Linked DNA regions of Homo sapiens: regions 2, 3 and 4 are each linked to region 1. The links are contacts of gene promoters, found by promoter capture Hi-C in blood cells and fetal thymus (Javierre and others, 2016). All regions are on one chromosome and are shown on one strand. The core of a region is centred on a gene start or on the middle of the fragment in contact, and the rest is flanking DNA. Distances in the headings are between cores, read along the strand shown.

Region 1 (6,801 bases), core at 1,108-3,607:
TGCCACCACGCCCGGCTAACTTTTTTGTATTTTTAGTGGAGACGGGGTTTCACCATCTTCGTCAGGCTGGTCTCAGACTCCTGACCTCAAGTGATCTGCCCGCCTCAGCCTCCCAAAATGCTGGGATTACAGGCATGAGCTACTGTGCCCGGCCAAAGAAAATACTTTTTATGCCAGCCCTGAAACTACCCTGAAGCACATACATCAACCTTGAGGCCTCACACTCCATCAAGAGGGGTGAAGGGCATGAGGAATTAGAAAGCATAGGGATTTTTAGTTAGACAGATCTGGTTCAAATCCTAGACTTGTGCCTTGAACAAATTATTTACCCTCATTGAACTCTAGATTCATTATTTGTAAAATGAAAGACAATAATAGTTATCTCCAAAGGAAAGTTGAATATGATCATTCATTTATTCATTAATTCAACATTTATTATTGCCTACTTTGTGCCAGGTTCTATTCTAGGAACTAAGGGATACAACTTTGAATAGGCAAAATCTCTGCTCTCCTGAAGTTTACTTTTTTTTTTTTTTTTGAGACAGAGTTTCACTCTTGTCACCCAGGCTAGAGCGCAATGGTGCTCTTGGCTCACTGCAACCTCCACCTCCTGGGTTCAAGTGATTCTCTTGTCTCAGCCTCCCAAGTAGCTGGGACTACAGGTATGTGCCACCACGCCCGGCTATTTCTGCATTTTTAGTAGAGATGGGGTTTCACCATGTTGGCCAGACTGGTCTCAAACTCCTGATCTCAGGTGATATGCCTGTCTTGGCCTTCCAAAGTACTGGGATTACAGGCCTGAGCCACTGCACCTGACCTGAAGTTTATGTTCTATTAAATAGCAACAGACAGTAACATAAACCAAAAATAAATAGGAAAACACCATAACAAAAATCAAACAGTGATATAATTGAGAGTTGCTTCTATTTCTTTTTGTTGTCTTCTTGGTTCAATCAGCCTGCTAAACTATATGGAACCTCATTTTCATGGGCCACTTATTTAAGCCGGGGGACCTTGGAAAGTCTCTCATGTCTCTCATCTCAACGGCCTAATGTGACTTCTCTTGAAATATTTGGACATTAGCAGGAAGCTGAGGCTTTACATCAGATCTTTACTTTAATGGTGGACTTGACTTTACTGGTAGATTTTTAGGCTCTGTGTGGACTGTGGAGATGATATCTGGGGGGCAGGCAGACACTTGCCCTGCCTCTGTCTGAGAAAATTCTGTTTTGGATGTCTTGTTGAAGTTGGTGCTGGCATCCTAAGCCCTTGCTGGGGTCGTAATTTAATTCATCAGAATGTGTGGCTTGCAAGAACCGGCTCAGATCCTGCCCTTCAAAAACAAAACATGAGCGTGCCAAGAAAGTCCAAGGTGTTGAATGTTGCCACTTCAAGCCTAAACTTTCTAGGAACACCTAAGTGGGTGGCAGCTTCCAGTTCTCCAGGCTGCTTCTAGGCCAGAGCTGGGTTCCACAAGAGACAGAATAGGCATATATATGCTTAAGGAACTGGAAAAACAGGCTCTCTCTCTCTCACAAACACACACACACACATACCAAGGTAGCTGTCAAAATGTTATCCGAAATTTTGGAACCAAAAAATCTTGAAAGATGGTATTCCAATATCACATTTTATGTAAGTTTTCTATTATATTAGATTCAAATTACGATTCGAGGCCACAAGCTTTAAGAATTCAGGGCCTTTTTAACTTGCCAAGCCCCACACCACTCCAGGAACTTCCCCACACCCCAGTTCTCAGAATTCATGTGCAAGGTCTTTCCTAAATCCAGGGTCCAGGTCAGAGAGTGGAGGATGTGCTCTATTTCTTACCTGATTGCAGACCCCTCTGACAGTGCTCCCTTCTGAAGCACTCACTGTCTGAACGTACACAGTCTCAGACTTAATCATGCACAGTGAGCAAGACTGTGGTGTGATAATTGGCGTCCCTGACTTATTAGGGCAAATCTATGGGAGGGGGAGACCTCCTGGACCACTGAGCAATTAATTCATTTACATTAGGAAGTTTCTCCGTCAGATGCAGGAAAAAAATCTTGTTTTCCTGCTGTGGTTTTGACTTTTGCCCCATCTTCTGTTGCTGTTGTAGGAGGCAAAATAAGGGTCAAGGCCTGGAAACACAAGTGCTTTGACTGAAGCTCCACTTGGCTTCCGAAGCCCAAGCTGGGTTGTACCAGGTTCCCTAGGGTGCAGGCTGTGGGCAACTGCCAGGGACATGTGCCTGCCCACCGGCCTCTGGCCCTCACTGAGTTGGCCAATGGGAAATGACAATTGTGAGGTGGGGACTGCCTGCCCCCGTGAGTACCAGGCTGTTGAGGCTGGGCCATCTCCTCCTCACTTCCATTCTGACTGCAGTCTGTGGTTCTGATTCCATACCAGAGGGTAAGAGCAATTCTGTGAAGTTCCAGGCTGGGTGGGGGATGCATGCATAGCCTCTGGCTGGGATCACCCAGGCTCTCCCGTCCGTAGTAGTGTGGGAGTGGATACAGGTGGATACTCTGGTCAGAGCAGCACTGGTGGAGGCAGATATGCACTGGGCTTCTTCCTCCGTTCTCCCACAGCCCCAAGAGAGAAAGGGTTATTTCAGACATTCCTTCTAAGATGCATGGAACCATTCTGAATTTTGCCCAGTTCGCTCTGTAGCAGGATACCTATTGAGAAAAAGTTAGGGTCAGTAAGGTGGAAGGGTCTGTCCACAGATGAAGTCCAATTCGATTAAGGGGGATAAGGGAATACATTGCCTCTTAGCTTGACCAGGTAGGGCAAAGGAAGAAGCATATATGAAGGCAGCTTCAGAAAAGTCAAGCTGAGCACTGACTTCAGACTGGAATTAGGAATCCAGCTCTGCCACTTTATTCTACTCAGCAAATATTTACTGAGCAAATTCTATGGGCTAGACAGTGGATTGGGTTCACAAGATACAATGAGTGTGACATGGTTGTTGTCTATGGATTTGGGGATATATGTAGGTATAGGGATATCTTACAAGGTAATCAAGAGGTTCTAATGAGGCCAGCCATGGTGGCTCACACCTGTAATCCCAGCAATTTGGGAGACCGAGGCGGGTGGATCACCTGAGGTCAGGAGTTCCAGACTAGCCTGACCAACATGGTGAAACCCCGCCTCTACCAAAAATACAAAAATTAGTTGGGCGTGATGGCAGGTGCCTGTAATCCCAGCTTCTCGGGAGGCTGAGGCAGGAGAATTGTCTGAACCTGGGAGGCAGAGGTTGCAGTGAGCCGAGATTGTTGCCACTGCATTCCAGCCTGGGTGACAGAGCGAGACTTTGTGTCAAAAAAAAAAAAAAAAGAAAGAAAAGAAAAAGAGGCTCTAATGAGATAAAATGAGAAAAGCCTGGCATATAGTGGCAACTTATGAAAAATTGTAATTAAAAAAAAACATTTTCTGACAGAAGAAACTGGATCTACCTGGTTTTTCTGAAGCCTAATCCTGCTCGCCCCAGTGAGTGCTGTTTCTGAGGCATCCTGGTTGTTTTGAGCTGTGGATGCTGAAGGTTAGAGTGGGAGGGATTTTAGAGGTTAGGTCTGCCCCTCTTGTGTTAGAGGACATGGATCCCTGGTCTGGAGAGGTTCTGGTTTTTGGATCAAGCCTCACAAGGGGTGGCACCAACTCACTCCTAGGAACTCCGCTAGAAGGAAGGCCAGCTCTGCCTAATTCGGTTGGGGAGATGGGGGTCCCTTTATGCTAGCAGAATATGTCCGAAGGAGCATGATGGTGTCAGCTTTGTTCATGAAGGCCAGTGGTACACAGGGAGCCCGGCAGCTTCCTCAGCAGTCCCTGCTGCCACTCTTCCTTAAGTCTTGAGGAGTCTTTTTTTGGCACAATCTCAGCTCACTGCAACCTCCGCCTCCCAGGTTCAAGCGATTCTCCTGCCTCAGTCTCCCAAGTAGCTGAGACTACAGGCATGCGCCACCACGCCCAGCTAATTTTTATATTTTTAGTAGAGATGGGGTTCACCATATTGGCCAGGATGGTCTCGATCTCTTGACCTCATATTCCACCTGCCTCGGCCTCCCAAAGTGCTGGTATTACAGGTGTGAGCCACTGCGCCTGGCCGAGGAGTCTTAAGCTGAGATCACAGCATTGCACTCCAGCCTGGGCAAAAAAAGCAAAACTCCATCTCAAAAAAAAAAAAAAAAAAATAGACACAAGACTGGCTCCTTGTCTTTTTTGGGGACAGGGTCTCACTCTATCACCCAGGCTGGAGTGCAGTGGTGCAATCACAGCTCACTGCAGCCTCGATTTCCCAGGCTCAAGTGACCCTCCCATCTTAGCCTCCTGAGTAGCTGGGACTACAGGTGTGTGCAACCATGCCTGGCTAATTTTTAAAAATTTTTTGTAGAGATGAGGTCTCACTATATTGGCTGGGGGGCCTCAAACTCCTGGGCTCAGCAGTCCTCCCACCTCAGCCTCCCAAAAGGCTGGGATTATATGCTTGCTCTTTTTAAGGTGGCTGTAGGGACAAACTTTCCACCTACTCCTTGTCAAGCCAGTGGACCGGTGGTCCCAGACATACGGCTAAAGTCAAGAGGTGATGTCTTTTGGAGAGATACTTTCAATCAGGAATTTCAATCAGAAATTCAATCATGTGGAGAGAGACTTATCCTAAAAATGTGGTGGTGCGTGGGATGCTCTGTTTTATTAGTTCCTTGACAGTATGTATGTGTGTGAGTGTGTGTGTGCGCGCGCGCACACTCATTTGGATGGGTGTGTATGTGTGGGGGGGGGTGGTGCGTACGTATGTGGATGTGTGGATGTGGTGTGTGGGTGTGCGCGTGCATAGGTGGAGGTGTGTGTATGGGTGCGGGTATGTGTGTGTGTTGGGCATGGAGATATTGACAGCTCTCCCAGGGCTGAGTGAAGGCTTTCGGGCAAAGCTCCTGGGAGCTAGGCAAAGCTGAGTTGATTCCTGGTTATGCCATTTATTATTGGGTTGCACCGTGTGAAACTGCCAATATTCTACACTTTGACTTTTATTTATTTTTATTTTTATTTTTTTTGAGACAGAGTTTCACACTTGTCACCTAGGCTGGAGTGCAGTGGCGCGATCTCAGCTCACTGCAACCTCTGCCTCATGGATTCAAGTGATTCTCCTGCCTCAGCCTCCCAAGTAGCTGGAATTACAGGTGCCCGCTACCACGCCTGACTAATTTTTGTATTTTTGGTAGAGACGGGATTTCACCATGTTGTCCAGGCTGGTCTGAAACTCCTGACATCAGGTAATCCACCCACCTCAGCCTCCCAAAGTGCTGGGATTACAGGCATGAGCCACTGCGCCCGGCCCATTTTGACTTTTAAAAATGGGAGTTTGATATAATTCAATCCAGTGGTTGAATTAGCTAGCATCGTTCCCTCTCCAAGTCTCAGGTTCTCCTACACGTTAGAGTCAAAAGCAGGGCTATGGGAAGATTAAGTAAAATAAATTTTGAAAATGCCTTATGAAAATTACACTCCAAAGAACTCGCGCCAGTGTCAGTGTTCTCATGTTCCTCATCTCACATGATCACATTTCGCGGATTAGGAAGCTGAGTCTGAGAAGCTCCGTGTAGTGCTTTTTCGGAGGCACCGTGATGTGATGGAAGGCTCACTCGTTAGGAAGTCAGAACAGAGTCTCTGAGGGATCATCTCCTTAATCTGTCAGTTTCCTCATCTCTGAAGTTGGGCTCATTTCCTTCCTTCATGGAGTTATTGTAAAGATGAAGATAAATAACGTGTAAAATCTAGCATGGGAACTGGCTTCTATAAGGTTCTAATAAGTGCATTCCTACTCCTTCCCCTCAGCCTTCCCATTTGTAAAAGCAAGGCAGGGGTGAGGTGATTTCTGGGGCTCCTTTTGGCTCTGACATTTGAGGATTTTGTATACTTTTTTTTTTTTGAGACAGAGTCTTGCTCTGTCACCCAGGTTGGAGTGCAGCTCAATGCAAATTCCGCCTCCCAGGCTCAAGCAATTCTTATGTCTCAGCCTCCTGAGTACCTGGGATTACAGGCAGGCACCACCACCCCCAGCTAATTTTTTTGTATTTTCAGTAGAGACGGGGTTTTGCCATATTGGCCAGGCTGGTCTTGAACTCCTGACTTCATGTGACCCACCCATCTCAGCCTCCCAAAGTGCTGAGATGACAGGTGTGAGCTACCGTGCCTGGCCAATTTTGTGTGCTTTAATGCCCTTTTCTGCTGGAAGAGTTGGCACCAGGTTTGGTGATCTCTTTCCCCCACACGGCTCTGCCTCCTGCCAGTCCCAGAGGGGACCCTGTCCTTGCATTTCACAGGATTCTGCTGTTGCAACTGAAATTCCAGTAGGTCAAAGTGAAATTTCTCATACACTTTAACATGAAGATAAATGATCACAGTATGGCCCTTTAGGATCCTGAGAACATCACGGTCATCCCCTGGTATAATTTTAAAAGCAGATGAATCCATGCCTGTGCGAGGTTTGCCAGGAAAGCCAGTGCTGGGATTACAGTGGAAGTCTTTTTATGCTACTTTTTTCTTGTATCCCTCACCCCATGGGGTGGCATATTGAAAGGCAGGATGTGTGACCACGATACTTTTCTCCTCCTGGACTATGTCTAAGAGTCTGTTATTGGGTTCTGAAGATCAGAGTTTAATTTCCGACTCCTCTCTGTGTAGCTCTGGGATCTTGGAAAGCCACTTAACCTTTCTGAAGTCCCCTTTCCTCATCTCTAAAATGCATACACTCATCACTAACATTTACTGAGCACTGACATGTGCCAGACACCATTCTAAGCATTTTACACAGACTAC
Region 2 (6,801 bases), core at 1,754-4,253, 250 kb after region 1:
GGAAGAAGTGAAATTTTCTCTCTTCACTGATGACATAATCTTATAAACACATAAAAATCATAAAAATTCCACAAAATTTCCACATACTAATTTCCACATTTGTGAATTTTCCAATATTTCCCGAGATTTCTCTTGTTATTGATTTCCAGTTTCATGGCATTGTGATTGGAAAAGATACTTGCTATGATTTGAATCGCCTTAAATTTGATAAGATTTGTTTTGTGGCCTAACGTGGTCCTGGAGAATGTTCCATTGAGAAGAAAGTGTATTCTGTTTCTGTTGGATGCAATGTTCTGCATATGTCTGTTAGGTACATTTGTTCTAAAGTGTAATTCAAGTCCAGTGTTTCCTCGTTGATTTTCTAACTAGATGGTCTGTTATAAAAAATGAATACCCGTACTATTATTGCATTGCAGTCTACCTCCTCTTTGAAATCACTTAATAATTGCTTTATGTATTTAGGTGCTTTGATGTTGGATGAATATATTTACAATTGTTATGTCCTCTTGATGAATTGACTCCTTTATCATTATATAATGGCCTTTTTGATCTCTTTTGATAGGTTTTGAATTACAGTCTATTTTTCCTTATATAAGTATAGCTAACCCTGCTCTCTTTTGGTTTCCATATGCATGGAATATCTTTTTCAGTCCCTTCATGTACAGTCTATGTGTGTCCTAGTGAGGTGAGTCTCCTGTAGACAGCATATGATTGAATATTGGTATTTTGTTTGTTTGTTTGATTTGAGACAGAGTTTTGCTCTGTTGCCCAGGCTGGAGTAAAGTAGTGCAATCTCAGCTCACTGCAGCCTTGACCTCCTGGGCTCAAGCAATCCTCCCACCTCAGCCTTCCAAGTAGCTGGGACTACAGGCATTCACCACCATGTCTAGCTAATTTTGTTTATTTTTTGTAGAAATGAGATCTCACCATGTTGCCCAGGCTGGTCTTGAACCCTTGGGCTCAAGTGATCCTCCTGCCTTGGCCTCCCAAAGTGTTGAGATTATAGACATGAGCCACCATGCCTGGCCTGAATATTGTTTTTATGCATTCAGCCACTCAATGTCTTTTGATTGGAAAATTAAATTTATTTACATTCAAAGTAATTAGTGACAGGTAAAGGACTTGCTACTGCCATTTTGTAATTTGTTTTCTGGTTGTTTTATAGATTCTCTGTTTCTTTCTTCCTCTCTTGCTGTCTCCTTTTGTGGTTTAAAGGTTTTCAGTGGTGGTCTGTTTTTAATTCTTTATTTTTATATTTTATGCATCTATTATAGTTTTTTGCTTTATGGTTACCATAAAACTTATATAAAACATCTTAAACTTAAAACAGGCTATTTTAAACTGATAACAATTATAATTGCAAGCAAAAGCTCTACACTTTACTCCTTCTCCCTACCTTTTGTGCTTTTGATGTCAAAATTTTCCTTTTCTTATAATTTGTATCCCTTAACAATCTATTGTAGCTACAATTTTTAGTAGTTTTATTTTAGCCCTCATAGTAGAGATAAAATTGCTTTACACATAACCTTTATTTACATTTTTGGTGTATTCTGAATATGACTACGTATTTCTTCTACCATTAAGTTTTTTATTTTATATGTTGTGTATTATTAGTTAGTAGTCTTTTGTTTCCACTTAAAGAACTCCCTTTAGAGGCAGAGGTTGCAGTCAGCTGAGATTGTGCCACTGCACTCCAGCCCGGGTGATGGAGCAAGACTCTGTCTCAGAAAAAAAAAAAAAAAAAAAAAAAAAAAGAACTCCCTTTAGCAATCCCTGTAGAGTGGGCCTAGTGGTGATGGTAAACTCCCTTAGCTTTCATTTGGAAAATTTTATTTCTCCCTTATTCTGAAGGACAGCTTTGCTGGGTAAAGTATTCTTGATTGGCAGTTGTCTATTATCCTTCAGCACTTTGAATGTATCATCCCACTGTCTCCTAGACTACAAGGTTTCTACTTAGAAATTCACTGATAGCTATATTGAGACTCTGTTCAGTATGATATGCCTCTTATTTCTTGCTGCTTTCAGTATTCTTTCTTTGTCTTTAATTTTTGATAATTTGAATGTGATGTGTCTTGGTGAACTTGTCTTTGAGTTAAATTTGAAAAGTGATCTCTAAGCTTCCTGTACCTGGATATTGTCATCTTTTCCTAGATTTGGGAAATTTTCAGCCATTATTATCTTAAATAAATTTTCTGGTTCTTTTTCTTTTTCTTTTCCCTAGGGAACTCCTATTATGCGTAGATCTGTTTTCTTGATAATGTCCCATAATTACCATAGGCCTTTTCCATTGTTTTTCTTTCTTTTTTTTCTTTTCATTCCTCTGACTAATTTAAATGTCCTGTATTCAGGTTCACTGATTCTTCTTCTGCTGGTCAAGACCTGCTATTGACACTTTCTATTAATTTCAGAAATTTAGTTATTGTATTCTTTAGCTTTATAATTTCTATTTGGGTTTTTTATTGTTTATATTTTTGTCAAACTTCACATTTAGTACATGAATTGTTTCCCAGAATTTCATTCAATTTTTCATCTGTATTTTCTTGTGGTTCTCTGAACTTCTGAATTCTTTATCAGTCATGTCATAAATCTCCACTTCTTCAGAGTCCACTATTAGAACTTTATTAGTTGCATTTCCCTCATTTTTTTTTTTTTTTTTTTTTTTTTAGATGGAGTCTCACTCTGTCGCCCAGGCTGGAGTGCGGTGGCATGATCTCAGCTCACTGCTACCTCTGCCTCCCAGGTTCAAGCAATTCTCCTGCCTCAGCCTCCCAAGTAGCTGGGATTACAGGCACGCACCACCATGCCCGGCTAATTTTTGTATTTTTAGTAGAGATGGAGTTTCACCATGTTGGCCAGGCTGGTCTTGAACTCCTGACCTCAGGTAATCCACCTGCCTTGGCCTCCCAAAGTGCTGGGATTACAGGCATGAGCCACTGCGCCCAGACTTCCCTCATTTTTGTAATCCTTGTGTCTTTGCATTGGTACCTACACATTTGAAGAAACACTTTCCAGTCTTTGCTGGTATTCTTTGGCTGTGCAGATCTTCACTATTTAGTATAGCCTAGGATTCTAGTTGGGCCAGTAGGTGGTGACAGGTAGACCTTGCATGTTCTCTAGTTGGGCTGGGCTGTTAACTGTGTTCTGGCGTCAAGCAAAACTTCTGGCTGTAATAGCAATCACTATAGTCTGACTCTCAGGAGGTCTTCCTCTTAGGAAAAGGGGGAGAGTACCACATCACGGGAACACCGTGTGGGACAAAATAATCTGGGTGACAGGCCTTGAGTCCCAGATCATTCCTGTGGGAAAGTTTCTTTCAGCAGAGACACAATTGCAGTACTGGACTCAGCAGGGGACATCTGTGTCTCTATCCAACAGTCAGACAGGCTTGGTGCTCATGAAAGGTCTTAGAGAAAGGGTCCTCTTTCCCCACTTGTCCACCACTGCAGACACAGCTGGGGCTTCTCTCACGGGAACTCTGTGTGGATTCACCTACAGACAGCCTTCCTGGAACACTTCAGGGCAACTGCATCCCCACAGAAGGAGCATTCCCCAGGTTTGGGCTTGCACAAGAAGCAGACTCACAATTTCTCTCTACTTGAAACACCAATATTCCTACAGACAAAAAGAAGTGCCTGTATAATCTGAATAGCTGGAACACTGGGACAGGTGTGAGGCTGGGAGGTGGATAGCTTTTCTGCTGGCCTGGCAGGGGAGCTGAGATAGCTCCCAACCTTCACTCTGATAAGACCTCAGTGCATCTATTTGGGAGCTCCCCAAGCAACCTTAATCAAGGCTGGGATCTCTGCCCACCATTGGGTATTGCATTTACCCACTTGCTTTAGCTACAACCGGTTCCTACCCAGGGATACAATTCCACCCCTACTGTCCTGAAGCTTGAGCCATTAACTCAGTAAATAAAATAATGGAGAAAAAATAAATAAATATGAGTGCACAACACAGGGAAATGAGATAAGCTTCAAAAGACCCCTACCATTCCAATCCCACAGGAGACAATGAACTTGCCTATACCAAGTACATACATACTACAAGTAGCATCTGAGACAGCCATCACACAAAGACTCTCTATAAGCAAGGAATTCTTACAGAATCTTCACTCATAAAAGCACCAAGAACCAAATTCAGCTGTAATAAACTATAAATATTGAAGTCACATCCTTAAGAGAAAAAAAAAGAAATTAAAAAAAATGAAACCAAAAATAAATTCAAGAACAATTACAAGAAATAGTCTACCCAAATGAGAAGGAACCAGAAAAGAGATTCTGGTAATATGACAAAATGGGGTTCTATAATGCCCTGAAAAGATCATACTAGCTCCCCATCTCTGGATCCAAAGCAAGATGAAATCTTTGAAATACCAGATAAGGAATTCAGAAGGTTTATTATTAAGCTGCTCAAGGAGATACTGGAGAAAGGTGAAAACCAACATAAAGAAATTTAAAAATCAATACAGGATGTGGATGAGAAATTTTCCAGAGAGATAGATATAAGGAAAAACTAATCAGAATATCTGGAAATGAAAGACACACTTAGGGAAATAAAAATACAGTGGAAAGTTTCAACAATGAACTAGAACAATAGAAGAAAGAATTTCAGAGCTTGAAGACAAGGCTTTTGAATTAGCCCAATCAGATAAAGATAAAGAATCAAAAGAACAAAGTCTCCAAGAAATATGGGACTACGTAAAATGGCCAAACCTAAGAAGAGTTGTTGTTCCTGAGGGAACAGAGAAGGATAAAAGTTTGGAAAACGTATTTGAAGTAATAATTGAGAAAAAGTTTCCTGGCCTCGCTAGAGATTTAGATATCCAAGTACAGGAAGCTCCTAGAACATCTGAGAAATTAATTGCAAAAAGATCATCACCAAGGCAAAAAGTGATCAGGCTATCTAAAGTTAATATGAAGGAAAGAATTCTAAGAGCTGTGAGACAAAAGCATCAGGTAACCTATAAAGGAAAACATATCAGGCTAATAACAGACTTCTCAGCAGAAACCTTACAAGCTAGAAGAGATTGGGTGTCCTATCTTTAGACCCCTTAAACACAATAATTGTCAGTCAAGAGTTTCGTATCCAGCAAAACTAAGCTTCATAAATTAGAGCAAAATAAAGTCTTTTTCAGACAAACAAATGCTGGGGTTATTTGCCACTACCAAACCAGCACTACAAGAAATGCTAAAAGGTGTTTTAAATTGTGAAAGAAAAGCTTGATATGCACCAAAATAGAACTTCCTGAAAGCATAAAACTATAAGGCCTATAAAATGTAATGAATGTATGAATGTAAATGGCCTAAATGCTCCACTTAAAAGGTACAGAATGGCAGAATGGATTAAAAAAAAACATAAACTAGATATCTTCTGTCTTCAAGAGACTCACCTAACACATAAAAATTCATGTAAACTCAGGGTAAAGGAGTGGAAAAAGATATTCCACACAAATGGAAACCAAAAGTAAGCCAGAGTAGCTATTGTTATATCAGACAAAACAGATTTTAAAGCAACAACAGCCAAACACAAGCAAACAAAATACAAAGAATAACATTATATAATGATAAAAGGATCAGTCCAACAAGAAGATATTACAACCATAAATTTATATGCACCTAACACCAGAGTTCCAAGATTTATGAAACAATCACTACTAAATCAAAGAAATGAGATAGACAGCAACACAGTAATAGTGGGAAATTTCCATACTCCACTGACAGCACTAGAAAGATCACTGAGACAGAAAGTTAACAAAGAAGCAGTGGACTTCAACTATATGCTAGAACAAATGGACTTAACAGATATTTACAGAACATTCTACTCAACTACTGGAGAATATACATTCTTCTTATCAGAACATGGAACATTCTCCAAGATAGACTGTATCATAAGCCACAAAACAAGTCTCAATAAATATAAGAAAATCGAAATCATGTCAAGTATCTTCTCAGACCACAGTAGAATAAAACTGGAAATCAACTCCAAAAGGAACCTTCAAAACTATAAAATACATGGAAATTAAATCATCTGCTCTTGAATGATTTTGGTGTTAATAATGAAATCAAGATGAAAATTTAAAAATTATTTGAAATGAATGATAATAACCGACACAAGTTATCAAAACCTCTGGGATACAGCAAAAGCAGTGCTAAGAGGAAAGTTCATAGCATTAAACGCCTACATCAAAAAGTCTGAAAGAACACAAATTGACAACCAAATTTTACACCTCAGGGAACAAGAGAAACAGGATCAAACTAAACCCAAAGCCAGGAGAAGAAAAGAAATAAAGATCAAAGTGGAACTAAACAAAATTGAAACAACAACAACAACAATAAAAAATACAAAAGACAAATCAAACAAAAAGCTGGTTCTTTGAAAAGATAAACAAAGTTGGTAGACTGTTAGTGTGATTAACCAATAAAAGAAGAGAGAAGATCCAAGTAAGCTCAAATAGAAATGAAACTGGAGACATTACACAGAATACCACAGAAATACAAAAGATCATTCAAGACAACTATGAACAGCTTTATGTGCACAAACTAGAAAATCTAGAGGAAATGGATAAATTCCTGGAAACATATAACCTTCCTAGATTAAATCAGGAGGAAATAGAAATCCTGAACAGACCAATAACAAGCAGTGGACTGAATCCGTAATAAAAAAAATTGCTGACACAAAAAAGGTCCAGGACCACAGAGTTTCACAGCTGAATTCTACCAGACATTCAAAGAATTGGTACCAATCCTACTGAAACTATTCCAAAAGATAGGGAAAGAGGGAATCCTCCCCAAATCATTC
Region 3 (6,801 bases), core at 1,497-3,996, 210 kb after region 1:
GCACGGGGAAAAGTGTGTTTGGGCATCACAAATAATCCTGTTTGGACGGCATGTGGGTCCTTGTGGGTGAAGATGGGTGAGGAACGAGGCCAGAAAGGTAGCTAGGCATTAGCTCTTAGAGAACGTTGATAGTCACAATAAGGACTTTAGGTTTCATTCTTTAAGCCATGGAGAGCCCTAGGAGGTTTTTGAACAAGGGAGACTTCTCACTTCTCTATGAGTCCCTGTTTTGTACTCTATAATGTCTCCATTATTAGGGACTATTGCCACAACCAGGTCAGAAGTGCCAGGCCTGCCCAGGCTGTGGTAGCAGTGATGAAGAGAAAGGACCTTACCTGAGAGGGCTCATGAAGTAAGAGGCAGAACTTACTATCTAGCTGGAAATGATCTTGAGTGAGAGGCAGGAGCCAGGATGTCTAGCCTGGGAGCAGGCTGTATCTTACCAAGGGGAGCATGCTTCCAGAGGAACGCAGATTCCACTTTGGATGTTCTGAGACTGAAGTGTGTGTGGATTTCCCTGGGTAGATATCTATGCTGTTGAGTACTTAATTCTAGAGAAGGATCAGATATCGAGATAGATTTACAAGTCATTTGTATCAAGGTGAGATAATGGTTATAATCCAGGGAAGAAGACCAATTAGAAAATCTAGAAAAAGATTTACATTTAAAGGACAAAGAAAAGAACAGGGAAAAGTCAGAAGGGTCAGAGACCGGCTAGAGGAGAACTAGGTGTGCACCATACAATGGAAGGCAAAGGGGGATGGAGTTTGAGGGATGTTGGCTGTTGGTATCAAAGTCTGCAGAGGTGGGACATATTCTTGGGCAGAATAAGGACTGAGAAGACACCTGTGAACTGAGTAGCTTGGAGAACATGATCAGTTATATCAGGGGTCAGCAAGCTTTTCTTAAAAGGCCGGATAGTAAATAGTTTTGGCTTTGAGGGCCATGATGTCTGTCACAACTACTCAACTCTGCTGTTGTACTGCAGAAGTAACAATAGATAGTAGTAAATGAACAGGCCTGGCTATGTTCCAACAAAACTTTATTTACAAAATGAGGGATGCACCAGATTTGTCCTTCAAGTCATAGTGTTTTGTTTTGTTTTTGACGGAGTCTTGCTCTGTTGCCCAGGCTGGAGTGCAGTGGCATGATCTCGGCTCACTGCAAGCTCCGCCTCCCAGGTTCATGCCATTCTCCTGCCTCAGCCTCCCGAGTAGCTGGGACTACAGGTGCCTGCCACCACGCCTGGCTAATTTTTTGTATTTTTAGTAGAGACAGGGTTTCACCGTGTTAGCCAGGATGGTCTCGATCTCCTGATCTCATGATCCGCCCACCTCGGCCTCCCAAAGTGCTGGGATTACAGGTGTGAGCCACCGCGCCCGGCCAAGTCATAGTTTTTTTTTTTTTTAACTCTGATCTATAGTATGTCTGTTTTCTTCAACCGGACTCAGAATGTAATTTTCCATAAATGGTTGTAGGATGTATTAGGCTAACTTGAAAATATAAAAGCGTTTGGTGATAAATTGTGATAAAATTTCTTTCATAATAATTTCTAGCTATTTAGAGTTAACTACACCTAGAGGCAGTGGATTTTGATGTATTTATGAATTTACTAACTTGAGCTGATTCTGTTGAATTTTCTAAGCGTGTGATTGTATAATCTGAATACAGTGATGCATTTATTTTTTCTTCTCCTAATTTGCCTCTTTTTCTGAGCTCTAATTCTAAGTTACAGAGAGGTGGTAGTTTCTTTTTTCTGCAGCCTTTCCCCCTCGCTAGGCTTGTTTGCTGGGATCTCAGTAGTTGTGGATTTCTCTTGGTGATTTCTTAGAGGCCTATTTGAGTTTGAAAGTTCAACTTTCAATTAGCAGGGAGGTTTGACAAACAGGATTTTTTTCTCTTTAAGTACCCAAGTCAGTTTAAAGTTTTCTTTTTAAAAATTTGATATATAATAATTGTACATATTTATGGGGTACATGTGATATTTTGGTACATGCATACAATGCGCAATGATCAGATTGGGTAATTAGAATATCCATCTCCTCAAAAAAGTTTTCTCCTTTGATTGGCTTTTTTCTTTTCCTTTCTTTTTTTTTTTTTTGAGACAGAGTCTTGCTCTGTTGCCCAGGCTGGAGTGCAGTGGCGTGATCTTGGCTCACTGCAAGCTCCACCTCCTGGGTTCACACCATTCTCCTACCTCAGCCTCCCGAGTAGCTGGGATTACAGGCGCCTGCCACCATACTCGGCTAATTTTTTTGTATTTTTAGTAGAGACGAGGTTTCACTGTGTTAGCCAGGATGGTCTCGATCTCCTGACCTCGTGATCTGCCCACCTTGGCCTCCCAAAGTGCTGGGATTACAGGTGTGAGCCACCGTGCCCAGCCTGATTGGCTTTTTTCTTAGAATCACGTCCAAACTTCATACCTGGGCCCCCATGTCCGTGTATGATCTGGTTCCTGCCAACCTCTGTAACTGTATCTTTGATTTTTCTTCCCCTCACTCCTTGTCTACAGTCAAGTCCCTGCCCTCATTGTGGTCCTGACACTTGCTGCATCCTCTGACTGGTGGACTTCTCTGAACCCTTCCCAAGGCTGGCCATCCTTTGGGTCTCAGCTCCAAGGCATTCCCTGAATCATCACTCTATGAAGGAAATTCCCTCAGTGTCTCTGGCACACAGCTCAGCTTGTTAGTGTCACAGTGTTTGTCACAATCCGAAATTATCTTATATGTAGGTTGTTGTCCGTCTTTACTGTCTATGTCCGTGCAGTAGAATGTAATATCTCTGAGGGCATGGACCTTGTCTTTGTTGCTCACAGGCGTCGTCTCCCGTGTCTAAAACTGTGCCTGGCATAGAGTAGGTGCTCAATCAGTATTTGTTGACTGAACAAAACAATTCTCCTTTCTTATGGTCAACATCAAGCATCTGTTCTAACCTAAGCCTTCTGTGCTGGATGTTCTCCAGTGGCACCTCCAAATCCCACTCTCACCCTTTTCCATCTGGCTCTGTCCCTGAGAAATTGAATTTTTTTTTTTTTTTTTTTTTTTTTTTTGAGAATGAGTCTTGTTCTGTTGCCCAGGCTGGAGTGCAGTGGCACAATCTCGGCTCACGCTAACCCCCGCCTCCTGGGTTCAAGCGATTCTCCTGCCTCAGCCTCCAGAGTAGCTAGGATTACAGGTGCGTGCCACCACGCCCAGCTAATTTTTGTATATTTAGTAGAGATGGGGTTTCACCATGTTGGTCAGGCTGATGTCGAACTCCTGACTTCAGGTGATCCACCCGCCTCGGCCTCCCAAAGTACTGGGATTACAGGCGTGAGCTACTGCGCCCAGCTGAGAAATTAAAATTTTGAACTGCGTTAATTGGCATTTCTCACTCTCTGGATTTTCTCTGGGACTGGCCAGGAGAAGCAGTGGCATTAAAGCTGAGAAGAAGACTAAGGTCAGGGCACCTATTCCGCCATGTTTCGCCTTGCAGAGTAAACTCAAGCTGTATCTTTCTCTTGACTGAAGGTCTCAGATCCTGCCAGGAGGCCGTCCCAGTCTTGGTCCTGCTCTGTCCCTTTTCCCTTCAGTTCTATGAGATCCAAGGGAAGGGGCAGAACCAGGTTGGGATATTGACTCCCTCAGGCTCCTTCTTGCCCGGAGGTTGGCAATAGCTGTGTTCCTCTCCTAAAGGCAACAGCTCCCGACAGGTGTCCCTCCTCAGCTCAGGGTCTCCGCTCATCAGGCCACAGTAGACCTGGGGTGGTAATGACACCCTGCAGTCATCAACCCTGGGGCTTTAGCCTATTCCGTGTTGATTTCTTTAAACTCTACCCCAACTTGGTAAGTAGTCCTTTTATGAATCTCTCAATTACTCCATTGGAGCTTCTCATCTCTTTTCTACTGGGATTCTCACCAATAATTTATTCATCTGTGAAATGGAAAAGTTGACTAACTGAAGTTTCTGATGGATCTGTGTTTCTCATGCAATTACTACTAATCCCTTTCGAACCAGTGACTGATTCTGACAAAATGTGTTGTAATTCTGAGTTGTGTAAAGATATACCTCCTGCCCTATGTGCACTTCAGTGTACCTGCCCTGTAAGATGATAACAGTTTGGACTGTGCCCTTCTCAGATAATTTTCAAACCATTTTGATGAAATTTTGCCCTAGGATTGAGGATAGGGTTGTGTTGTTTTCATGAATGATGTTTCTGTGTTCCTGAGGTTTAGTACATACATTGGAACTGAAATAAAGAGAGAGGCTTTCATCCTTAATTCTGTGGATATCCTCTTTCTAAATCATCTTGTGTTCAGTCAAATGCCCTCACTTCCCCAAATCCTGTGTGGATAAAGAATGATCCAAAACAAACCTGAATAGGACAATAGAGGATTCAGCTGACCCCCAGATCCCGTGTAGATTTCAGTGGTGAGCCCCAAACTTGCTTGACCGAGTAAGATTGAAAGAAGTTCTCATAGGATCACAGGATTTGGATGGCTCCTTAAAGTCTTCAGTTCCCTCCTTCATCAGATAGGTCAACGTGGGGTAGAGAAACTTTTCCAAGTCTTCCAAACACTGCTTAAACAGTTGCAAAGACAAGGAGCTAGCCCAGGAAGCTTTTAGGTTTTTCAAGATGGCCTGTTTGATTTTGACTGGATTTAGTACATTGTTTCTGACAATGGCTTACAAAGAAAGAGAGAGAGAGAGAGAGAGAGAGAGGGAGGGAGGGAAGGAAGGAGGGAGGGAAGGAAGGAAGGAAAAGAAGGAAGGAAGGAAGGAAAAGAGAGAGAGGAAGGAAGTTAGTTTAGCTCTCTGACCTCCTCTTCCATTTCTGCCACACCAGTTCTGTGACTCTTCCCTGGGCCTCAGGTTCCTAAATGGAACGCCTGGGGGTTGTCTTGGATGCCATAGTTAAATCCTGTCCATTTGCTGAGCACTGCATGCTTTTCAAAGTGCAATGGGGTCCTTTGCACTTGTGGGATACACTGAACATATGGTAGTGTTTTCATTTTTCTGACAGAGATAGAAATATAATCTACTGGTGATACCAAGAGAATATCTGGTTTGCTGCTTTGATAACTGGAGTAGCTACTCCACTGTAAGTAGCACACTGGCTTTGTTCACTTTTCTGTGTGCCCAGGCACAAGCGAATGTCTTTGAATGGGTTTCAGGAATGCCACAGTATGGCCCCCTTCAGCCCTTACAGTGGCTGGCAGACAGGTGGTCATCTCTGCCTAGGAGCTTTACCTGAGCACCACACAAATACTGCCATTTCGCCCTGTGGATCATGATGGGGTAAAGATGGGGAAGCATTATTCCCTTGCCCCCTCCCCCGCCTCTCGTCTTTCTCTTTTTCTGCATATTGCCAGTGCTCATCACCTCTTTTCTGTTTCTTTGTGGTTTATAGATGATCATGACGCAGTCCTGAGGTTTAATGGGGCACCCACAGCCAACTTCCAACAAGATGTGGGCACAAAAACTACCATTCGCCTGATGAACTCTCAGGTAAAATTTCTTCTGTGCAGCTATGGAGTAAGAGAAGGACCACAGTGTGGGCTCTAATGTGGAATGTATCTACTGGGAGCATATCTAGGCTGCCAATTAAGTCTCTTGATCTTCCTGAGTTCCTGATTCCTCACTGGAGAAGAAGACAATGATTCCATGACCCAACCTGATGATGTGTTTATTTAAAGAAAAACCCTTTAGTATTAGTGTCTGCTAATGGAGGTGTCTGGTACCCAGGAAAGTAGAGTTGAGCTGTCCTTGCTGCTGCAAGGTCATACCTGGAGGTTTACATGAGGGACAGCAGAGCGCAGAACATCCAGGGGAGAGTGGGGAGTGTTGTGAAAAGTGAATGAAACAATACACAGGAGAGCACTTTATGAACCGTAAAATGCTATACAACTACTATAAGACAGTGTCACCATGTAATTATGTGTAATATGGCACTAGAATTCATGTACTATTTCATAAATTCCCCTGGATAATTAGGTTCCCGGAGTATTTTCAGGTAGCACATGCCGATTTCTCAATACTAAGGGAGACTTGAGAAATATTCTTGCCACAGGGTTCTGTTAGTATATTTTATTAGTGGGAAAAACTGTATTACACATATATATGAAAATATCAAAAATTGCACAATAGGGCTGCAACCTGCCCATCTCACAACCACCAACATTTGCCTTTTTCTGAATAAACATATGTGCTCTGGGGGTTTTTATGTCAGTATTTAGTCTGCATACTTCCCTAGGAGTCCTGGGCATGGGGTGGATCCTGGAACAGATCAGAAATGCCTTTTCAGCAGTGTCTGTGGAATGTGTGTTTCTTTCCTTCTCTACTAGGGCTCCACTTCCCTATATCTGTCTCTTCACTTCCTTACTTTCAGGAACTCACCAGCTAGGCAGAAGCTGCTTCCTGCATAGCCCACTTTCTATTTGAAGCCCACAACCTTAAGAAACTTTTTTTTAAAATTATACTTTAAGTTCTAGGGTACATGTGCACAATGTGCAGATTTGTTACATAGATATACATGTGCCATGTTGGTTTGCTGCACCCATCAACTCGTCATTTACATTAGGTATTTCTCCTAATGCTATCCCTCCCCTTGCCCCCAACCCCACAACAGGCCCCAGGGTGTGATGTTCCCTGCCCTGTATCCAAGTGTTCTCATTGTTCAACTCCCACCTGTGAGTGAGAACATGCGGTGTTTGGTTTTCTGTCCTTGTGATAGTTTGCTCAGCATGATGGTTTCCAGCTTCATCCATGTCCCCACAAAGGACATGAACTCATCCTTTTTTATGGCTGCATAGTATTCCATGG
Region 4 (6,801 bases), core at 1,960-4,459, 140 kb after region 1:
ATTGGTGAAGCCTCTAGTTACATTTTACTGTTTACATTGATTTGGATTTTGGTTTGCTTATGTAGAAGCTCTGGTTATGGAGACAACCTCAGGCTAACGGCCTCCTTCTTATTTGCTTTAACAGAGGGATGGCAGAGGTAGAAGACAGCAGATATTTGAGGGCCATCACTACTGCCTTGTACCGTGGGTAACCTGCATGAAGTCTTCTCTGTAGCTTCAGAGCATCTAGATCCGCTGTCATGCCACCAATACACTAAGGCACTTCATTTTCCTCAGGGAGACTGATGATGTCTTGTTATCTCTTATTAGCATTCCAAGTCTTATCTTATTTTTGAATTCTCAAGGTCCATTTTTGGGCATATAAATTACTGAAGGCAGTCAGGAAATATTGTTCCATCAGAGCTGGGAGAAAGACTCAACCCTTATCCTGGTCCATTGACCTATTTCCAACCTCAGCTTTGATGACAAAACTCAGCAGAAGCTTTCTTACAGACTAAGAGCACTTTATAAAACACTGCTTAAAGCTGAAGGAAACCCTCTGAATGACCACCCTTGAATACCTCCTTTACTAAGACCCATGATTATCTGGGAGTTAGAATCCATAATAATAGCTGCCACTGTGCACAGTGATTGTGTGCTGGGTGCTTTACATCTATTTTCTCATTTAATTCTCCTAACAACTCTATGATAGCAGTCACGCTATGATACAGGTCACACTGGTATTGTTTCACAAATGAATAAACGGGCCTAGAAAATTCAACTAGATTTCCCTAGGTTAGCAGTGGAGTTGGACTTCAAACCTAGGTCTGTGTAGCTCACAAATGAACACTTATTATGCTTATACCATTTTGCCTCATTAGAATAATAGGAAGTCCTTCCTTTTTTGGTGAGGAAGAAATTTAGAGATTGGTTACCCTGACTGGTGATACAGAGCAAAGCTATGTACAAATTGCATCAAAGGGTGGCAGATCCCTACATTCCCATCTAACATCACATCATTCCTAACCTTTTTCCATGTGGATAAGCATGACCTTAGTCAAGTCATTTCTTAGTAAGATAGATTGTTGGTTGCTCGTGACTCTCAGTGAAGACCCAGTAATGCCAAGAATCATGGCAGACAGTTAGGGGGAATATGTATCTTCAACTATGGGGCAGTATGGCAAAGATATTGAGGGCCAGGAATTTGACTACTTTTGAGGAGCGATGACAACTGAGTACAGGAAGTGAGAGGAAGGGAGCATGTACCGTGTATCATTTAATCAACCTTGAGCTTGAGACCAAAGGGAACATACCCTAAGTTTAACTAGGATGGGTTTATCCAGATATAATGGCATCACATCGTAAATTGAAAAGTGTCTGTGTGTAATTCTCTCTGTCTTATTTCTTCGAGAAGGAGTTTCGCTCTTGTTGCCCAGGCTGCAGTGCAATGGTGTGATCTCGGCTCACTGCAATCTCCGCTACCCGGGTTCAAGTGTTTCTCCTGCTTCAGCCTCCCAAGTAGCTGGGATTACAGTCGCCCGCCACCATGCCCAGCTAATTTTTTTATTTTTAGTAGAGACGGGGTTTCACCATTTTGGCCAGGCTGGTCTTGAACTCCTGACCTCAGGTGATCCAGCCACCTCGTCCTCCCGAAGTGCTGGGATTACAGGCATGAGCCACCGCGCCCAGCCCCAATTCTCTCTTTTTAATAGTAATCTAATTACATTTATTTGGCTGCTTTGTTTTCTGTCTCAGGTACGCTAAGTTTGTCTCTCAAAACTCTTTGTGGGCAGGAATTGTAGTTTATATGGTAGTGATGGTTGTATTTTAATTTCACAGAGTGTCTAGCAGGTAATAATTAGCCAATAAAATGTTTCCATTCATTCACCAAATATTTACTGGATAGTTACCACGGTTTGGGCACTGGACATAAAGGTGCTAGGGATACAGTGATAATTATTACTTGGCAGTTGAAATGCTTACGGTTTTAAGGGAAGACAGACATGTAGGCACATTAAAATGACATTTTAATTTGATTAGAATATAATTGAGATTTAAGTAAAACTTATTGGGAACTCAGATGGGAAATAATGAGAAAACAAAGAGAGGGAGGCAGATTTAAGAAATATTCTGAGAGTAGAAAATAGAAGCTTGCGACCTATTCAGTTGGAATCAACACTGTTTATAGGATTGCTCTAGGGGCAGTGAGGCACTGGCGTGGACAGTGATCCAGGGGCACTCAGGGTGAGGGATGAGTTGAATATGAGGTGAGAAAAAAGGGAAGTTGAAGATACCAAGCTTAGCAAGGTAGTAAGAGGTGGAGAGAGGAAGGGAGGGGATTATAATGGTTATTATATAGGGAGTGCTTATTACTATGTGCAAGGTAATTAACACGAATTGCCTCATTTTTTCCTCATAATAAAAGAAGTAGGCACTTTTGGGGATACAGACACTGAGAGCAGTTGAGTAGCCTGTCCAAGATCAGACCTTTGAGGAGTGGAGGAGTTAGGTTTACGCCCAGGAATCCTTGCTCCAGAGTAAACAGTCATGCAGCTGGGTGGAGAAAAATTCCACTAGCTGATCAAGAACATCCGAAAAGCTCTCATGCTGATAACTCCCAAATATGGATCTCCAGCTCACACCTTCTCCCTGACCTCTAGACTTTCCTATCAGGCTTCCTACTTTACGCTCTGTTTGACAGTCTCATCTCAAACTCAGAATATCCAAAGCTGAACTCCAGATTTCCTCTGCCCCCAGGTCTGCTCTTCCTTTGTCTCCTCTTTTTCCATTAAAGTAGCACCATCCGTCTAGTTGCTTGGGCTCCAACCCTTGGAATCATCCTTGACTCTTCTCTCTCTCACACTCACATCTAAAATATCGGGCATGATTTTCAAAGCACGTCTAAAATATACCCACTTCTCTGCCTCCACTGCAACCAGCTGGTCTAAGCCATGAGCATCGCTCACTGGGACTGCTGCTGTCTCCTTACTACTATCCCTGCCCCCTATTCCTGTTCCCACATGGCAGCCTGAGCAATTCTGGCATATTAAGTCAGATCTGGTTGTTCCTCTGCTCAGCCTCCTGCAGCAGCTCCTATTTTATTTGCTAAAAGCCAGAGTTCTTGCCAAGACCTCAAAGGCCCTGCCCAGACTCCTCCACCTCCCCGACATCGTTGTTTGTTCCTCCCGGACCCCGTCTCCATGTACCCTCTTCCTTGATCCTTTCCTTCCAACCAGTGCACACCAGTGCACTCCTGCCTTGAGCCTTGCCGCAAACACGCTTCCCCAGATATTGTGGGACTCATTCCTCCACTATCTGCAACTCTTTGTTCAAATGTCCCCTTCTCAGTGAGTTCTCCTCTGACTGCCCTTTGGAAAATGGAAACCTACCTCAACCCAGTACTTCCGATCTCCCCTTTCTTTCCTTCCCTTCCTCCCTTCCTTCCTTCCTTCCCTCCCTCCCTCCCTCCCTCCCTCCTTCCTTCCTTCCCTTCCTCCCTTCCTTCCTTCCTTCCATCCTTCCTTCCTTCCTTCCTTCCCTCCCTCCCTCCCTCCCTCCTTCCTTCCTTCCTTCCTTCCGTCCTTCCTTCCGTCCTTTCTTTCTCTCTTTCTCTGTCTCTCTCTTTTCTTTCTTTCTGAGATAGGGTCTCGCTCTGTCACCCAGGCTGAAGTGCAGTGGCACGTTCTCGGCTCACTGCAACCTCCACCTCCTGGATTCAAGTGATTCTCCTGCCTCAGCCTCCTGAGCAGCTGGGATTACAGGTGCCCACCATGACACATGGCTAATTTTTGTATTTTTAGTAGAGATAGGGTTTCACCTTGTTGGTCAGGCTGGTCTCGAACTCCTGACCTCAAGTGATCCGCCCACCTCAGCCTCCCAAAGTGTTGGGATTGCAGACGTGAGCCACTGAGCCTGGCCCTATCCCCCCTTTCTTGTACTCTACTTTGTTCTCTAAGCACTTAGCATCTTTTAAGATACCAAATAATTTTTTTAATTTGTTATATTTACGGCTCTTAGTGTCTCCCTCTGCTAGTATGTAAAACTCTAAGGGTGTTGATCTTCATCTGGGTTATTCACTGTAGTATCCTATGCACTAAGAATTATACTTAGCACTTAGCAAATGTTTAATACATTTTTTTTTAAAGTGAGTAAGCGTAGAATATAAAGCTTTTGTGCAGGTCTCTAAAAGTTTTTGAAAGGATATGATCTGAGGCTAGGCACTCCCAGCACTTTGGGAAGTCAAGGTGGGTGCATCTTGAGCTCAGAAGTTCGAGATTAGCCTGGGAAACATGGCGAAACCCCGTCTCTTCAAAAAGTAAAAAAAAAAAAAAAAAATTAGCTGGTCCTGGTGGAGCATGCCTATAGTCCCAGCTACTCAGGAAGCTGAGGAGGGACGATTGCTTGAGCCTCAGAGGTGGACGTTGCAGTGAGCCGAGATTGCGCCACTGCGCTCCAGCCTGGGTGGCAGAGTGAGACCCTGTCTCAAAAAAAAAAAAAGAAAAAAGAAAAAGAAAAAAAGACGAGGTCTGGAGTCTGAGGGAGATGTCACTGGGGGCTGGTCATGTGGAAGCAGGAATCTTCCCCGTGTATGTGGGCATTTCAGGACTGGCAGGAAGCTGGTCCCAGGGGAGGCTAAGCTGGGGAGGATGCCTGAAAGGCATTAGTGGGAGGGAGTTTGAAAAAGACCCAGAGACGCCTGTTTGAAATAAGTATTGGAAAGGACTCTTTAGATTTTGCAATTAGAAAGGCAGTTTCAGTGGAATGATGTGAACCGACTTCAGTTATTTGAGGAACCAGTAGAAAGTGGGGAAGTGTAAGCAAGTCAAGAGACCCCGCCATAAGGAAGCAGAGATTAGGTTGCCGTTTGAGGAAGTGATTTGTTTGAGGTATTTTTTTTTAGCTCCACAAAATATCATGTTTCGGGTGTGAGTAGGGATGGGGTAAATGACACACTAAGCTAATAACATCCAAACCAGCTTGTGAAACATCGTGCAAGTTATATCTGGTTCATACCAAAGAGTCGCTACTCAGTCCAGGCCTCTATCATGCCTGGCACATAGTGTTGAATATTGTATTCAATAAATATTCAACAGTAAATATTTGTTGAATACAGTATTAAATACTATAGAATTTAGACAGGTCCCTGTATCAACAACAGCAACAATGACCACCACCACCACCACCACCACCACAACAAAATAACAAGAATGTCCAATGTAGGGGGTTGCTTTTTGATCCACTTGCCTTTGGCTAGTGGTGTCTTTCTCTCCTTAGCGCCATATTCTTCAGCACTTTTCGGCAGCTGTATGTGGTTCTATTTTGGTCTCCTCTTTACTGCACGGCGATTATGTTTTCAAGAGGCAAATCTTCAGGGTGACTAGAGTGACACGTTATCTGAGTTCTGGATGGAGGTAAAGGAATATCACGGTGAGTCTGGGGAAGCAAGGGGACAAGAGAGTTGGCCAAATGAGGCGGAAAGACCCCAGACTTGCGATCAGAAGAACCTGATGTCAAATCAGATGCATCTTATAGCAAGTCGAGCCACCTCTCTGAAACTTGAATTTAAATGATCTAAGGTCATTTCCTTTGGATTTTATAGAAAGAATAGTGTCAGGAGAAAAAGAAAAACAAGGAACCATGACTTGCTAAACATACTCAGAACCAAAGGTTTTCTTTCTTTCCTTTTAAAAAAAAGTGATATACAGTGAATACAGGCTTAGTTCCCTAATGGTGGCAAATGATGTAATGTTCACAGATGTCCTGGGGGAAAACAGAACAATCAACTTCTATTTTACTCTTACCATTTCTGAGAGAAGTCAGGCAGACTGCATAGGAAAGGAAGGAAAGAAAGAAGGAAGGGAGGGAGGGAGGAAGAAAGAGAAAGAGAGACAGGGAGGGAGGGAGGGAGGGAAGGAAAGAAAAGGAAAGAAAGCAAGGAAGGAAGGAAGAAAGGAAAGAAAGGAAGAAAGAAAGAAGAAAGAAAAGCCCCTAAGGTTAGTAAGTATCTTATGTCCCTGGAACTACGCTAGGCACATACATACCTTACCACCTTCCTTATCCAGTGAAGGGTATTACATCAGTGTTTTAGGTAACCTACCCAAGGTCCACAGCTAACAATGGGGAGAGAGGATACAACAAGCCTTTGGGGGAGAAAATTGAAGCCCACGGCCCACAAGAAATAAAGCCAAGAAATGTAGTTGCTTAAAGTCAGCCAGATTCCCCAGCACCCAGCATAGTGTCTTATTCTTAGGAGAATTTGAGAAATATTTATTTATCTAAGGGATGGTTGGTTGGTTGAACGAATTACCTGAGGAAACCTGAAAATGTTTTTTGCTGAAGTGCTGTTGAAGGTCCTCAAGATCTTACGGAGATGGGAGAAACCTAGGGGGAGAGAAATAAAATTTAAATTTTCAAAAGGAATAATTATAAACCAACTGTATCAGGCAGTAACTGAGTTGACCTATGGAAAATGCATAGCACATGGTAGTACTCAACAAGTGATAACTATGATATTTAAGGGAATTATTATTATCATTAAATAAATATGTTTCTGCTGCTGCTTCTTATGCTAGAACTTGAGACACAGAGTTATTGGGGCTCGTATTTAAAAGCACTTTAGTTTTTCTGTATGCATAATATCCCATGGTGTAAGGTAACCTCTTTTCCAGTTGGCAGTCATGCCTAGCTTCTCATACCTCTGCTTTAGTTCCTGTTTGTGGTGTCGGCACAGTAAAATTTATATATGGCCATATAGCCTATATGTTAAAGACCATCCCAAGTATCTCCTCAGTGGTCAGGCATTTTTGTATGATACAGAAGCAT

The links. Contacts are between HindIII fragments. The CHiCAGO score rates a contact against its expected background, and 5 or more counts as called.
Region 2: a contact is called between a fragment that was not itself captured here and the fragment with the promoter of ADIPOQ in region 1, in 14 of 17 cell types (non-activated CD4 T cells, total CD8 T cells, activated CD4 T cells and 11 more). The highest score is 18.7, in non-activated CD4 T cells.
Region 3: a contact is called between a fragment that was not itself captured here and the fragment with the promoter of ADIPOQ in region 1, in 10 of 17 cell types (non-activated CD4 T cells, total CD8 T cells, naive CD8 T cells and 7 more). The highest score is 17.4, in non-activated CD4 T cells.
Region 4: a fragment that was not itself captured here is called in contact with the fragment with the promoter of ADIPOQ in region 1 in 8 of 17 cell types (non-activated CD4 T cells, total CD8 T cells, activated CD4 T cells and 5 more); the score reaches 12.8 in non-activated CD4 T cells.

The regions. Positions count from the first base shown.
Region 1 is chr3:186,840,353-186,847,153 of GRCh38, forward strand. ADIPOQ (adiponectin, C1Q and collagen domain containing) reads left to right here and starts at 2,358. Exons shown (of 3, transcript NM_004797.4): 1 at 2,358-2,397. RefSeq lists a promoter at 1,682-2,380, a cis regulatory region at 1,782-1,809, enhancers at 2,398-6,801, 5,441-5,488 and a silencer at 5,554-6,801. The HindIII fragment of the contact is 5,592 bases long and covers 1,682-6,801 here.
Region 2 is chr3:187,091,716-187,098,516 of GRCh38, forward strand. No RefSeq gene overlaps it. Among named protein-coding and RNA genes, the nearest start is that of RPL39L, 44 kb to the right of the region's middle. The HindIII fragment of the contact is 1,776 bases long and covers 2,116-3,891 here.
Region 3 is chr3:187,045,860-187,052,660 of GRCh38, forward strand. ST6GAL1 (ST6 beta-galactoside alpha-2,6-sialyltransferase 1) reads left to right here. Exons shown (of 8, transcript NM_173216.2): 5 at 5,390-5,487. Among named protein-coding and RNA genes, the nearest start is that of RPL39L, 90 kb to the right of the region's middle. The HindIII fragment of the contact is 3,699 bases long and covers 898-4,596 here.
Region 4 is chr3:186,981,312-186,988,112 of GRCh38, forward strand. All of the region lies in intron 2 of ST6GAL1 (ST6 beta-galactoside alpha-2,6-sialyltransferase 1), which reads left to right. LOC124906314 (a long non-coding RNA gene) reads right to left here. Exons shown (of 3, transcript XR_007096208.1): 2 at 6,287-6,360; 3 at 1,986-5,380. Among named protein-coding and RNA genes, the nearest start is that of ST6GAL1, 54 kb to the left of the region's middle. RefSeq lists an enhancer at 4,770-4,899. The HindIII fragment of the contact is 1,869 bases long and covers 2,276-4,144 here.